Regions from separate parts of the Homo sapiens genome. Here regions 1, 2, 3 and 4 are each linked to region 5. The links are contacts of gene promoters, found by promoter capture Hi-C in blood cells and fetal thymus (Javierre and others, 2016). All regions are on one chromosome and are shown on one strand. Each heading gives the region's core, a stretch centred on a gene start or on the middle of the fragment in contact. The rest is flanking DNA. Distances are from core to core; before and after follow the strand shown. Region 1 has its middle 12 kb from the start of NEURL3. Region 2 has its middle 41 kb from the start of ARID5A. Region 3 has its middle 12 kb from the start of NEURL3. Region 4 has its middle 39 kb from the start of NEURL3. Region 5 holds the start of ADRA2B (adrenoceptor alpha 2B).

The links. Contacts are between HindIII fragments. The CHiCAGO score rates a contact against its expected background, and 5 or more counts as called.
Region 1: a contact is called between a fragment that was not itself captured here and the fragment with the promoter of ADRA2B in region 5, in 3 of 17 cell types (total CD8 T cells, neutrophils and total B cells). The highest score is 6.7, in total CD8 T cells.
Region 2: a contact is called between a fragment that was not itself captured here and the fragment with the promoter of ADRA2B in region 5, in 4 of 17 cell types (total B cells, naive CD8 T cells, total CD4 T cells and 1 more). The highest score is 6.5, in total B cells.
Region 3: a fragment that was not itself captured here is called in contact with the fragment with the promoter of ADRA2B in region 5 in 2 of 17 cell types (total B cells and activated CD4 T cells); the score reaches 5.9 in total B cells.
Region 4: a fragment that was not itself captured here is called in contact with the fragment with the promoter of ADRA2B in region 5 in 1 of 17 cell types (erythroblasts); the score reaches 5.7 in erythroblasts.

Annotation. Positions count from the first base shown.
Region 1 is chr2:96,491,677-96,494,376 of GRCh38, reverse strand. No RefSeq gene overlaps it. Among named protein-coding and RNA genes, the nearest start is that of NEURL3, 12 kb to the left of the region's middle. RefSeq lists an enhancer at 742-1,401. The HindIII fragment of the contact is 349 bases long and covers 1,209-1,557 here.
Region 2 is chr2:96,576,858-96,579,557 of GRCh38, reverse strand. No RefSeq gene overlaps it. Among named protein-coding and RNA genes, the nearest start is that of ARID5A, 41 kb to the right of the region's middle. The HindIII fragment of the contact is 229 bases long and covers 1,328-1,556 here.
Region 3 is chr2:96,515,673-96,518,372 of GRCh38, reverse strand. No RefSeq gene overlaps it. Among named protein-coding and RNA genes, the nearest start is that of NEURL3, 12 kb to the right of the region's middle. The HindIII fragment of the contact is 4,133 bases long and covers 1-2,700 here.
Region 4 is chr2:96,464,527-96,467,226 of GRCh38, reverse strand. No RefSeq gene overlaps it. Among named protein-coding and RNA genes, the nearest start is that of NEURL3, 39 kb to the left of the region's middle. The HindIII fragment of the contact is 673 bases long and covers 1,060-1,732 here.
Region 5 is chr2:96,115,272-96,117,971 of GRCh38, reverse strand. It overlaps ADRA2B (adrenoceptor alpha 2B), which reads left to right and starts at 1,401. Exons shown (of 1, transcript NM_000682.7): 1 at 1,401-2,700. The coding sequence starts at 1,823. RefSeq lists silencers at 572-641, 682-1,141, 1,152-1,311, 1,412-1,501. The HindIII fragment of the contact is 8,066 bases long and covers 1-2,700 here.

The sequences.
Region 1 (2,700 bases), core at 134-2,633, 380 kb before region 5:
AACCAAAAATTCTGTATCCAGCAAAACTGTCCTTCAAAAGTGAAGAAGAAATTAAGATATTCCCAGATAAACAAGAACAGAAAATTCATTACCAGTACATGTGCTCTACAAGAAATATTCCCATATTTCTTTCCCATATTTCTTTAAGACTGAAATGAAAGGAATGATCTCTAACATTTCTCTAATTTTATAGATAGGAAAACTGAGGGGCAGGTAGAAGGAATCATCTTATAAATGATGGGATAAGAATTAGATCCTTGTTATAACCACACTGATGCAATCATTTCTTCATTCATCAAATTAATTCCAAGAATATTGAAACATCTGACTCTAGAAGCCATCTTAGTATGAGCACAGACTTGCCTATGTCCTTGGGAGCAATACTGGGGAATAAATAATTATATTCAATGTGGTAAGTGTTAGAATAGCTTATACTGGCTGGGTGCGGTGGCTGACGCCTGTAATCCCAGCACTTTGGGAGGCTGAGGCAGGCAGATCACAAGGTCAGGAGTGTGAGACCAGCTTGGCCAATATGGTGAAACCCTGTCTCTACTAAAAATACAAAAATTAGCCAGGCGTGGTGGCGCACGCCTGTAGTCCCAGCTACTCAGGAAGCTGAGGCAGAAGACTCGCTTGAACCTGAGAGGCAGAGGTTGCAGTGAGCCAAGATCATGCCACTGCACTCCAGCCTGGGCGACAGAGTGAGACTCTGTCAAAAAAAAAAAAAGCCTATACTAAGAGCTTTTCAACTTCCATTTCAAGATGATAGACTGAGCACATGTAGTTGTTTCCTTTTATTCCAAGTCTCTATACATTGCTCAGAATGATTTAAACAAATATATTTCTTCCCTATAAAACAATATAGGGAAAATCTGGTGAACTAAAACCACAATAAAAGGTGGAAAACAGGTGGGATCAGATTAAATATGGAAACCGTGCCAGAGGAGAGGACTGCCGCAAAAGGTGAGAGCAGCTCTAGGAATGCTTCAAACTCAGGACTTGTGAACTGGGAACCGCAGGTGGTCCATGATCGACTGACCGTGACTGGTAGAGGCTCACAGAATAGACAGCCAGGAATGTTCACCTCAGGCCACACAGTGAGTCACAGAGGTGTCTTCCCATGGGCAGGATCAGTGAGAGGTGAACAATTGGGTGTGAGGCAAGACAAAGCCCCAGAGATTAACAGCTCCCAAGGATAGCAGGAAGCTTCCACATCTGGAAGTTTCACCATTGGCTCATGCTGCCCAGCAGCACATCCCATCCCTTCATTCCACTTTACACAGGTACACCAAGTCATAGCTGCATGTCCTGCACCTGTCTGCAAGCAGGCCACTTAGGCTAACAAGGAATTTCAGATCCAAAGGTGAACTCACAGCCAAGAAAAGCCAAATATTTGAAAAAAGTGAATATCATGATGGAAAGGACTGACAGCAAAAGGAGTTCATACCTGAAAAAATAGGGTTAATAAAGCATACAAACCTGGGCTTTAGGATAACTATAATCACATATGAAAGGATATTGCATTGAAAAATCTAGATACCTTTGGAATTAGAAGCTTGACTATTAAAATTTAAAATAACTTATTTGATAGAGTGAGTAGCAGAAAGTATGTAGCTGAAAAATGTATTAATGATCTGGAATCAACCAGAATGCATTCCAAAATTAACAAGAGATGAAATATATAAAAAGAGAATAAACAGAATAGATGAAGTTCAAATAACCATCCAATGTGAATTCCAGAAGAAAAAAATAGAGAAAATGGACAAAAGAGAAACTCAAAGAAAGATTAGAGCTGGGCATGGTGGCTCATGCCTATAATCCCAGCACTTTGGGAGGCCAAGGTGGGAGGATCGCTTGTGGCCAGGAGTTCAAGACCAGCCTGGCCAACATATAAGACTCCCATCTCTACCAGAAATAAAAATAAAAGAACAATTTCTCAGAATTGAAGAAAGACATAGCTTTTCAGATTGAAAAAGCCCCCCAGTTGCCAAACAGAATAAGTGAAGAAAAGACTTTCATTTTGACACATACTGGTGACATTTCAGAGTACCAGGGATAAACAGAAAACCCAAGAAGAAAAAAAAAACACCCCAAAACAGATCACACACAAAAGTATTAGAATCACATTATCAGTAGGCTTTTTCTCAGCAATACTTGGTACAGAATGACAATAGAACAATATCTTCAAAGTTCAGGGGGATTTTCTTTAATTGAAGCATATTTACTATAATAATATGCACATATCTTTTTTTTTTCTTTTTGAGACAAGGTCTCACTCTGTCATCCAGGCTGGAGTGCAGTGGCACAATCATGGCTCACTGCAGCCTCCGCCTCCCTGGCCTCAGGTGATCCTCCCACCTCAGCCTTCAGAGTAAGCTGGGACTACAGGCACATGCTGCCACACCTGACTAATTTTTTAATATTTAGTACAGATGAGATCTTGCAATATTGCCCAGGCTGGTCTTGAACTCCTGGGCCCAAGTGATCCACTTGTGTTGGTTTCCCAAAGTACTGAGATTATAGGCATGAGCCACTGTGCCTGGCCTATGCACAGATCTTAAGTCCCCATTTTGATGAGGAAATAATTTTGAAATCTAAAATTCTGCAGACAGCGACTCTCTCATTCAAAGGTGAGCGTAAAATGAAGAAATATTCAGATATAAAAAGACTCAAAGTTTATCATTTAACAGATACTTTATA
Region 2 (2,700 bases), core at 193-2,692, 460 kb before region 5:
GGCGCAAAGCAGGGATGTGAGGGAGAAGGATGGATCTGGAGGGGCAACCAGAATATCTGACCTGATAGATGTATTTTTCAGCTGGAAAAGGCATACATATTGAGAGTAGAAATGTTGGCCAGTATAGAAAAGCATAAAGAAGAAAAAAAAGAATATCTATAATCTCATCAACCAGAAGCATTGTCTGTTTACATTTTAGTGTGTTTGTTTCTAGTCCTTTTCCATACATATTTTTCAGTAGTTGGAATCACACCATGCATGTAGTTTTTTATTAGTTTTTGTAATGAGTTGGCACCAGAATTCCTCTTGGGGAAGAGAGCTTTTGGTTTGGGGAAGGTTCCTTGAGAAACTGGAATAGATGAGATGGCTCTGACTGTAAGGTATTAGTAGCTCAAGCAAAGGATGGTTAATATCTCTGTAGGAGAGAGTGGATTTTTTTATATTTACTGGTGCTTTTGAAGAGAAGGTGGCTAGGGAAGCATCCTGATGGCAGGGTGGCCAAGGGGCAGGTTAAGAATGGCCTACAAAACTGATGACTTATTCTCCCATTCTTCATACCACTAGAATTACAGTGTTGTGGAAGACTTGGGGGAGATCCCTTTCTCAGGGAGGGATGGGCATGTAGCCCAGTCCTGGCTAGTGAATTTTAAGGGGACTGTGCCAGAGGCTACTGGGAAGGGTTTCCTCCTGATAAAAAGGGAGGGGCACGTGAGGAGAAATTCTCTGCCCTGCATTGACCTTTGTTTCCTGCCCCAACTTGCAACTTGAAGAGAAAGGCCAAGGATTAAGAATTAGGACTCATTAGGCCGGGCACGGTGGCTCACACCTGTAATCCCAGCACTTTGGGAGGCCGAGGCAGGCAGATCATGAGGTCATGAGATCGAGACCATCCTGGCTAACACGGTGAAATCTCGTCGGTACTAAAAATAGAAAAAAATTAGCCGGGCGTGGTGGCGGGTCCCTGTAGTCCCAGTTACTCAGGAGGCTGAGGCAGGAGAATAGCTTGAACCCAGGTGGTGGAGCTTGCAGTGAGCCGAGATCACGCCACTGCACTCCAACCTGGGTGACAGAGCGAGACACTGTCTCAAAAAAAAAAGTATTAGGACTCATTAGCCAGGCGGGTACACGCCTGTAAACTCAGCTACTCAGGAGAAGGGAGGATCACTTGAGACCGGGAGTTCAAGACCAGCCTGGGTAACATAGTGAGACCCCTGTCTCCAAAAAAAAAATTTTTTTTAATTAGCCAGACATGGTGGCATGCACCTGTAGTCCCAGTTACTCAAGAGACTGAGGTGGGAAGGTTTCTTGAGCCCGAGAGTTCAAAGCTTCGGTAAGCCATGATTGAGCTACTGCACTCCATATCCTGGGAGACGGAGCAAGACCCTGTCTCAAAAAAAAAAAAGAAATAAAAAAAGAATTAGGACCCTGGCCCCCATTCTCAGCTCTGTCTCTGTGTCATTTGTTAATTCTGAGTCCTGCTTGCATCTTGGCATTGATTCCACCCACCCCCTCCTCCCCCAAGTAGGGAGAACAATAACAATGCTTACATTCAAGCTTTATCCTAGGCCATCATTACTGGTATTCTATAGTTCAGGGAAAAACTGAGGCACAGAGAGGTTAAGTAACTTGCCCAAATCACACAGCTGGTAAGTGGCAGAACCATAGCCGAATTCTGGCAGTCCACTGCAAAGCCCACTCTCAAGCAATCTCTAATCGCAATGACTTGGCTCTCAGGGTTGTGGTGGGTAAGCCTGCTGTGCTCGGAAACTGAATAGTAGCTCATGGCCTATCCATGATAGGTAAAGGGTTGATTGGTTGCAAACCTCTTATCTAAATGGCCTGTAAAAGCACACACTGTGCTTGCTCACAGTGCCCAGAGACCACGTGGGAGGTGCCAAATATGGGTGGTAACAGGCAAGGAAGAGGGAGTATCTGTACCAAATCTGGTTTTGAGGAAGAATTGTATGTCATGTTGAATTGACAGTCTGGCTAATTGGATGGGTAGATGGCTCCTACATGGGTGTCGTAGGCTCTGGCAATGCTGGGCATCCCATTTTCCCATAACTTGTCAGGCTTAAAGTGATTACTGAGGAAGGTGGAAACCAGGCTTGACCACTTGGTTCTTGGTCCATGTGTTCAGACTTCCCTAGAGAGCACCTGTCCTGGAGGATCTAAGCCAGGGCTTCTCATGGTGAGCCCTCTCCGAGAGTGGAGAAGCAGACCAAGGCAGTGGGGAGTGGGACTCTTCTTATGTGGATCATGCCCAGCACCAAATGAGATTGATTCCAGATTAGGTCAGCAGTCATTCTAGACCAGATGGTCCCTATGGAAAAAAAGTGGAGAGTTAGAACAGGGAAGGGTGAGCAGCAAAAGATGCAAAGGAGAGGGAAAACTGGAACAAGGGACAATAATTTCAAATCTGTAGGTTTGTCTTTTTCCCTCTCTTCCTAAGCAGTTTAGTCCTAAAGCCACTAAATAATGCACAGCCAAAAGGGAAAATATTCGTGCATGTGGCAGGGGGAGAAGCCAGCACTAACTTTTGCTAGAAGTGTTCATTGGAGCCCCAGAAAATCCCCTGGGTTCCAGACCTAGTCCTCTGCCACGATCGTGTGGTAATAACCCCAATTTTCCCTTGATAATTGGGGTCAGTCACTTCAGCCCGCAAAGTCACTGCTCTTTTTTGATTTAATGTCATGAGGC
Region 3 (2,700 bases), core at 11-2,510, 400 kb before region 5:
GGGCCTCCAGGTGCTTCCAGCCCTCAGCCACATGAGCCATTCAGGACTTTCCAGCTGGAGCCCCAGACATCATTTAAAAAGTTGAGCTGGCTGGGCTTGGTGGCTCATGCCTGTAATCCCAGCACTTTGGGAGGCCGAGGTGGGTGGATCACTTGAGCTCAGGGGCTCAATACCAGCCTGGCCAACATGGTGAAACCCCGTCTCTACTAAAAATACAAGAATTAGCCGGTCGTGGTTGTGCACGCCTGTAATCCCAGCTACTTGGGAGGCTGAGGCAGAAGAATCGCTTGAACCTGGGAGGTGGAGGTTTCAGTGAACTGAGATTGTGCCATTGCACTCCAGCCTGGGCAACAAGAGCGAAACACCATCTCAAAAAAAAAAAAAAAAAGTCGAGCCATCCTTGCTGTATCTGTTTGAGTTCCTAACCCACAAAACCTGTGAGCATAATAAAATGGCTGTTCTTTTACTTCACTAAATTTGGGGTGGCTTGTTATACCCCCAAAAAATAACTGGGACACTTCGATTGCATATATTTCCTGTGGGTTCCATTTCCATCTTACCAATATATATCCTACAGTTCCTATAGTAATTATTTCAGTGAGGATCTTGAGTGATAAAACTTGTTTTTGTCTGCAAATATCTTTTCCCCCTTACTCTTAAATAATAATTTTCATGGGTCTGGAACTTGAAGTTCATGGTTGTCTTCCCTCAGCACATTGAATATATTTATGTTTATTGTTTTTGGCAGATATTATTAAGAAAATTTGTCTCCAATCTAATTATTGATCCTTTTAAATTAAGCTGTATTTTCTCCCTAGTTGCTTTTAAGATCTACCTTTGGTGTTCTGCAATGTCTATTTGTATATTTATTTTTATCATGCTCAGTAATCAATGGGCCTCTTCAATCTGAAGATTTATGGCTATTTCTTGTTCTAGAAAAACTTCATGCATTATTTGTTTGAATGTGGCAAATATTATCACTTTCTGATTCATTTTGACTTTTTCTTCTGGAACTCCTATTAGTGGTATATTGGACTTTCTCGTTTTATTATCCATGTCTTTTAGCTTTTCTTTCAAATATTCTCTTTGCCAGAGTTCTGGTGAATTTCTGCAGATCTGCCTTCCAGTACACCTATTCTCAATTCAACTGTGTCTAATCTGCTGGCTTGCCAGTATATTGTGTTTACAAATTCAATAACCATATTCTTTTGTCTCTGTGGTTCTTTTCCAAATCTGTTGTTTTACACAGTATCCTGTTCTTTATCATTTTTATTCCTTCCTTTGTATTTTTAATCATTTTAATATGCTAATTTTATATCTCTTTTGGCTTGTCCTATTATTTCAGGTTCTTAGAGGTAATGATTTTCTTTTTCCTTTTTTTTTTTTTTGAGATGGAGTCTCACTCTGTAGTCCAGGCTGGAGTGCAGTGGTGCAATCTCGGCTCACTGTAAGCTCCGCCTCCCGGGATCACGCCATTCTCCTGCCTCAGACTCCCGTAGCTGGGACTACAGGTGCCCGCCACCACGCCTGGCTAATTTTTTTGTATTTTTAGTAGAGACAGGGTTTCACCGTGTTAGCCAGGATGGTCTCGATCTCCTGACCTCGTGATCCATCTGCCTCAGCCTCCCAAAGTGCTGGGATTACAGGCGTGAGCCACCACGCCCAGCTGGAGTTAATGATTTTCTTGTGTGTTGTGCCTGCTGGCTCTCCTTCATGGCAGATGGTTTCTTCATGTGATTTGTAGCTGTTGTTTGTGAACTCATCTGCAGTGGAGTTGTTTTGTTCCATGGGAGTCCTATATATTCTGGATTGTGAAAATGGCCTCAGAGATGTTTTGTATTTGTTTCTGACAACTGCTCCCAAGGGCTCATGGGGGAGCATTTTTGTGTAATTTTTCATCTTGGGAATTCTTTGCCATATGGATATCATAAATTTGGCTGCCACCTTCATGAATAGTTTTGGTTTTCAGTTTTGATTTTTCCCAGGAAACTTTTCTTCCACCCAGAGGCCTGGGCAAAGACAAAATTCATGTGTCACCTCCTAGTTTTGTGGGTAATTCTTTTCTGAGGGGCCATCCTTCCAGGGTTCTTGCTTTATACAGAGGTCTCAGTTCCAGTTCTCCACAAGGCCACACCTCTGGATCCTAGTGGGTGTTGAACCCTCAGCTCCCGTTGGTGGGGCCCCCGTCCATGTCCAGTTTCTCACTGGGCCCCCTGGGTTAAAGCCCAAATCTGGCTCTAAGTTCTCTCTGTACACTCGACACCTCAATGCTTCTCCACTCCTTTTTCAAGTTCCACTGTTGTTCTAACATCTTTCACTTATATTTGGTACTGAGTTTCTCAGTGTTGGCAGGGGAGGTGGCATCAGCATTAGCTGAGTCCATGGTGTTGCCAGAATCTGAAGTCAGTGGTCTTGATGTTTAGCAGAGCACCTCAGGGAGATTTGGGGGCACGCAAAGTTAGGCCTGGGGATAATATTAGTTCAGAGGGGGAGCTGTACTGCTCTGCATGAGAAATAGATTTGGGGGTGAGGAGATTTGAATTGGCTCCAAGAGAGGGAGAATGAGGGGGCTGGGGGTGGAGGAAGGCTCTGGCTTATGAAGAATGAACAGTGTGATGTCATGTTGACACAAATATTGCAGGGCCCTTGAAAATAGGGGTTGGGGGTGCATGGTGGCTCACAGCTGGAATCCCAGGACTT
Region 4 (2,700 bases), core at 147-2,646, 350 kb before region 5:
CAGCACGGGACAGGAGAGAAAGAAAGCCAATGGAGTGAGCTTTGTGACCTCCAATTTCCTACCTGGAGGCAGTTCCCAGAGTGTAGTATAGAAAGGGCATCCCCAGCAAGGTGTGGCAGTCTTGCTGAGTAGAGGACAATGGAATCGGTGTTTGCTAGGCTGTGGTAATCAGAATTTGGAAAGCAGAGTACCAGAGACAAAGAATCCAGGTGGAGAAAAGCTCCAGAAATACTAATAGGGGTCACATAAGCTTTTTGGCTGAATATCAGTATGTGAATGAATAAGGCGAAAACTCCATAAAGCCAGACAAAAAAAACCCAACTACCTGGGAAAGAACAATGACTGCATGCCAAATAATTCTCACATCTTACACAGAGCCAGGAACTATTCAAGTTTCTACCAGCCAAAGAACGGGGAGTTCTTTGAACACATGGGACATTGGCTAGAGACCCCAGAACAGCTATTCACAGAGTGAAACCACACTGAGACAAATAAAGGTTCTGGAAGCCAGTTGCGATGGTGCGTGCCCATAGGCCCACTCAGGAGGCTGAGGCCTGAGCATTACTTGAGACCAGGAGTTCAAGGCCAGCCTGGGCAACATAGAAAGACCCTGTCTCTAAAAGAAAGAGAAACAGGATATGATGGAACTGCTTTTTAAGGTAGTTAAAGGAGGTGCCTTGGAGAACTATTTATGCAAAATTAGGGCTACAGTCTCAGTAGAAGTCCACAGTAGAGAAGGGCTTATCCAAAAGGTTTGTAGGAGGCTGAGACAGGCAGACCATTTGAGCCCAGGTGCTGGAGACCTGCCAGGGCAACATAGTGAGACCCTATGTCTACAGAGCAGAGCTGGGGCTCTGAGAGTTAAAAAAAAAAAAACTTAAAAAAAAATTAGCCAGGTGTGGTGGTGCATACCTGTAGCATCAGCTACTCGGTAGCTGAGGTGGGAGAATTGCTCGAGCCCAGGAGGTCAAGGCTGCAGTGAGCTGTGATCACACCACTGCACTCCAGCCTGGGCGACAGAGCGAGACCCCCGTCTCAAAAACAAACAAACAGAAAGCTTTGTAAGGGTGACTTTTGTCTTTAGTGAAGTGAACCCCACTAAGATTTACAAGAAACTCACAAAGGTTTTAAGAAAATGGTTGGCAGAAACGCCATCAGCATGGACTGAAAGTGACAGAAACAATACAAAATAGGATTAATATCCTTATAAAAAGAGACACCAGAGAACTCATCTTCCTCTCTTGCCATGTGAGGACACAGTGAGAAAGGCCACCTACAAGCCAGGAAGAGGGCCCTTAACAGAACCTGACCATCTTGGCACTCTGATCTCGGACTTCCAGCCTCAGGAACTGTAGGAAATCAGTATGTGGTTAAGCCCCCAGTCGATGGGGCTTTATTAAGGCAGCCTGAGCTGAACCATATGAAGAGCAAATGCAGCGGCAAGGGCACCACCTTGCAGGTCTTTAAAGAGTCTGTGGAGAGCCTGGGGGAACTTGGTGGGGTTTCCTGGACCATTGAAGAAATTGATTTGAACAAAGGGAATGTAGGTTTTAAATATCAGAGAATCTGATCTGCTTGGAAACTAGAACTTTAACACAGCGGATTTTAAATGTCTGGTTGTGCCCATTAATGATAGACTGGATAAAGAAAATGTGACACATATACACTGTGGAATACTATACAGCCATAAAAAGAATGAGTTCATGTCCTTTGCAGGGACATGGATGAAGCTTGAAGCCATCATTCTCAGCAAACTAACACAGGAACACAAAGCCGAATACCACATGTTCTCACTCATAAGTGGGACTTGAACAATAAGAACACATGGATACAGGGAGGGGAATATCACATACCAGGGCCTGTCAGAGCATGAGGGACAAGGGGAGGGAGAGCATTAGGAAAAATACCTAATGTGTGTGGGGCTTAAAACCTAGATGATGGGTTGATAGGTGCAGCAAACCACCATGGCACATGTATACCTATGTAACAAACCTGCACATTCTGCACATGTATCCCAGAACTTAAAGTAAAATAAAAATAAATAAATAAATGTCTGTTTGATGTTTCCATTGCTTTTCCCTTATGCATAGTTTTCCACAAAAATCTCTCTTGCCAACTAAAGCCTTACGAGTCACAAGGTTTTTCATGAATGGCACACTTTCCAAAGGGCCTGAGAGATGCTGCATCTGGAAAATCCTTCCTCGAACCTCACCTTGAATACTGCCCCCTACACACAGACTCTCCTAACCTGCCCTCTTCCAGGTGTCATCAACTAATGGCTCCATCATCCAGAATTGGCAGGGCATGACCTCCAAGACTAGGTCATTAAAGGCATGGCTGCTTCCTCCCCACTGTCTCTTGGATTACCTGCCCTTGGTAATCTCTTGGATTACCTGCCCTTGAGGAAGCCAGCTGTCACATTGTGAGAAAACTCAAGCAGCCCCGGTGGAGAGGTCTACATGAAGAGAAGCTGAAGCCTCCTGCCAACAGCCATGTTAGTGAGCCCAACAGTCCCCAGTCAAGTCTTCAGAGAGAAGACAGCAACCCTAGCCATATCTCAAATGCATTCTCATGCAAGGCGCCTACCCAGAAGCACCTAGCTAAGTTGCTCCCAAATTCTTGACTCACAGAAGCTGTGTGAGATAATAAATATTTATTGTTTCAAACCCTTGAGTTTTAGGGTAATTTGTTATGCAGCAA
Region 5 (2,700 bases), core at 152-2,651:
GGGCACTGAGAGGCCACGTGCTCTGCTCCCATGGAGGGAGCAGGGAGGAGAGGAGGTCCAGCAGGTTGGACGGGGCCTGGGGGAGCCCCACTGTCAGAGGTGGATTGGTGCTTATTTATACAGAGGATGCCTTGCAGAGTCGTGGGCTGTGAATAAGAGGCCTGGCTCGAGGCGGGGCTTATGACATTAGGGGCTCCAGAACCGGGGAAACATGCCCTCAGGGCTGCCCAGGCTGGTGCTGGTGGCGGTGTGGCAGGGAGAGTGAGTTGGGGCCCTGAGGGAGAACAGTTGCTCATAGCGCTTTGAAGGCGAGTGGGGGGCCTTAGTCTGAAGTTTCTTTTTACCCCAACCCTCTTTCCACTGTCACCCCCAGAAGGGCTTCAGTGTGTATGTGGGGCAGGACCGCAGCAGGGAGGGAGGGTCAACCCCTTCCCCCGGGGTCACTACAGAAGCGGAGGGACGCTCCTCTCTTCACGGCTGCCCCTGAGACCTGCTTTTTCTCGGAGCTGTGTGACAAAGTCCCCACCCTTTACTCCCCCACGGCAAGGAAGGGACCTCCCCTTCGCATTAGTCAAGGGGCGGCAGCTCGCCCTGTGCCCCGTACAAACCCTTGGCTGAATCGCAGTTGATGCTGTGATTCGAGTCCAAGCCAGTTTCCCTGTTACCTCCTTTGCCCTTAATGGAGGAAACTGAGGCAGCTGCGGAGACACAAGAAGCCGAAGTCCTAAGACCCAGGCTGCGAGCGCTGGCTCCGGGACCCGGGCTGCCGCTGACGGGCTGGGCCCGCGGGCGGCAGCAGGGGGCGCTCGCAGGCCGGGACGCGCCCTCCTCGCGCGGCGCTGGCCCGACGGAGCTGGTCCGCGAGGGGCAGCGCCTGGGAAAGGGTCGGGACCGGCTCCCCGCTCCCCGCTCCCCCACCTCTCCGCAGGGCGTCTCCACGGCCGAGCCGGGCGGGGTTGTGGTGTATTGCGACCCGGCGCCCCAGCCCCACGCCCGCCCTGCCCTCCCTGCGGGCTCCCGAGCGGCGGAAGGCAGAGCAGGGCGCACCGGCGCCGGGCCCAGCCCGGTTCCCCCGGGAGAAGTGTCCCGTCCCGGTGCCGGCCCGCGCGCTAGCTCCGCGTCCCGGCTCCCGGCACCCACCGACCCCTCCACAGCTGCGCGCGTCCTGCCTGGGGGCCGGAGACCCCGGCCGCCGGGCCCCTCCGCTCTCCCGAGGCGCGGCCGCCGGGAGGAAGGCAGGTAGAGGCGCTGGGCGGGGTCCGGGCGCGGGAAGTCCCGGGCTCACGCCTCCCGCGAAGCGCACCTTCAGCCCACCTCGGTCCGCCCACCGCCCCGCCTCCCGCCCGCTCCCGCGCCCGCCTCCAGTCTCCGCCTTCCTCCAGCCGCTCTCCCCGCTCCCCACTCCCCTGCAGGCGCGGCTGGGGCGAAAGCCTGCGAGCTGAGCGGGCGCAAGGTCCTCCGCGCCTCCTTTAAGAACCGGCCCAGCCCGGCCCGCGCCCCCAGAGCGTACGGCATCCGCGTGGCGGGAGGGCGCGACTTTCTCCGGTCCCGGGCGGGACGGGGACGGCGGCGGGACAACTTGGGAAACTTCTCTGGGGCGGACGGCAGGGACCCCGGGCACCGGTGGAGGAGGATGTAGGAGGGCGGCTGCTGGTCCTGGGTGTTCCCGACCTCCTAGGCCCCGCTCGTCCAGGCCATGGGGCTCCAGCGCCCTCGGCGCCGCCCGAGGGGCGACGCTCTTGTCTAGCCGAGCCGGGCAGCGCTGTCGTCCACGGTGCGCACTGGGCGGGCAGCGCTCCCTCTGCCCACCTCCCGCCCCGTCATGGACCACCAGGACCCCTACTCCGTGCAGGCCACAGCGGCCATAGCGGCGGCCATCACCTTCCTCATTCTCTTTACCATCTTCGGCAACGCTCTGGTCATCCTGGCTGTGTTGACCAGCCGCTCGCTGCGCGCCCCTCAGAACCTGTTCCTGGTGTCGCTGGCCGCCGCCGACATCCTGGTGGCCACGCTCATCATCCCTTTCTCGCTGGCCAACGAGCTGCTGGGCTACTGGTACTTCCGGCGCACGTGGTGCGAGGTGTACCTGGCGCTCGACGTGCTCTTCTGCACCTCGTCCATCGTGCACCTGTGCGCCATCAGCCTGGACCGCTACTGGGCCGTGAGCCGCGCGCTGGAGTACAACTCCAAGCGCACCCCGCGCCGCATCAAGTGCATCATCCTCACTGTGTGGCTCATCGCCGCCGTCATCTCGCTGCCGCCCCTCATCTACAAGGGCGACCAGGGCCCCCAGCCGCGCGGGCGCCCCCAGTGCAAGCTCAACCAGGAGGCCTGGTACATCCTGGCCTCCAGCATCGGATCTTTCTTTGCTCCTTGCCTCATCATGATCCTTGTCTACCTGCGCATCTACCTGATCGCCAAACGCAGCAACCGCAGAGGTCCCAGGGCCAAGGGGGGGCCTGGGCAGGGTGAGTCCAAGCAGCCCCGACCCGACCATGGTGGGGCTTTGGCCTCAGCCAAACTGCCAGCCCTGGCCTCTGTGGCTTCTGCCAGAGAGGTCAACGGACACTCGAAGTCCACTGGGGAGAAGGAGGAGGGGGAGACCCCTGAAGATACTGGGACCCGGGCCTTGCCACCCAGTTGGGCTGCCCTTCCCAACTCAGGCCAGGGCCAGAAGGAGGGTGTTTGTGGGGCATCTCC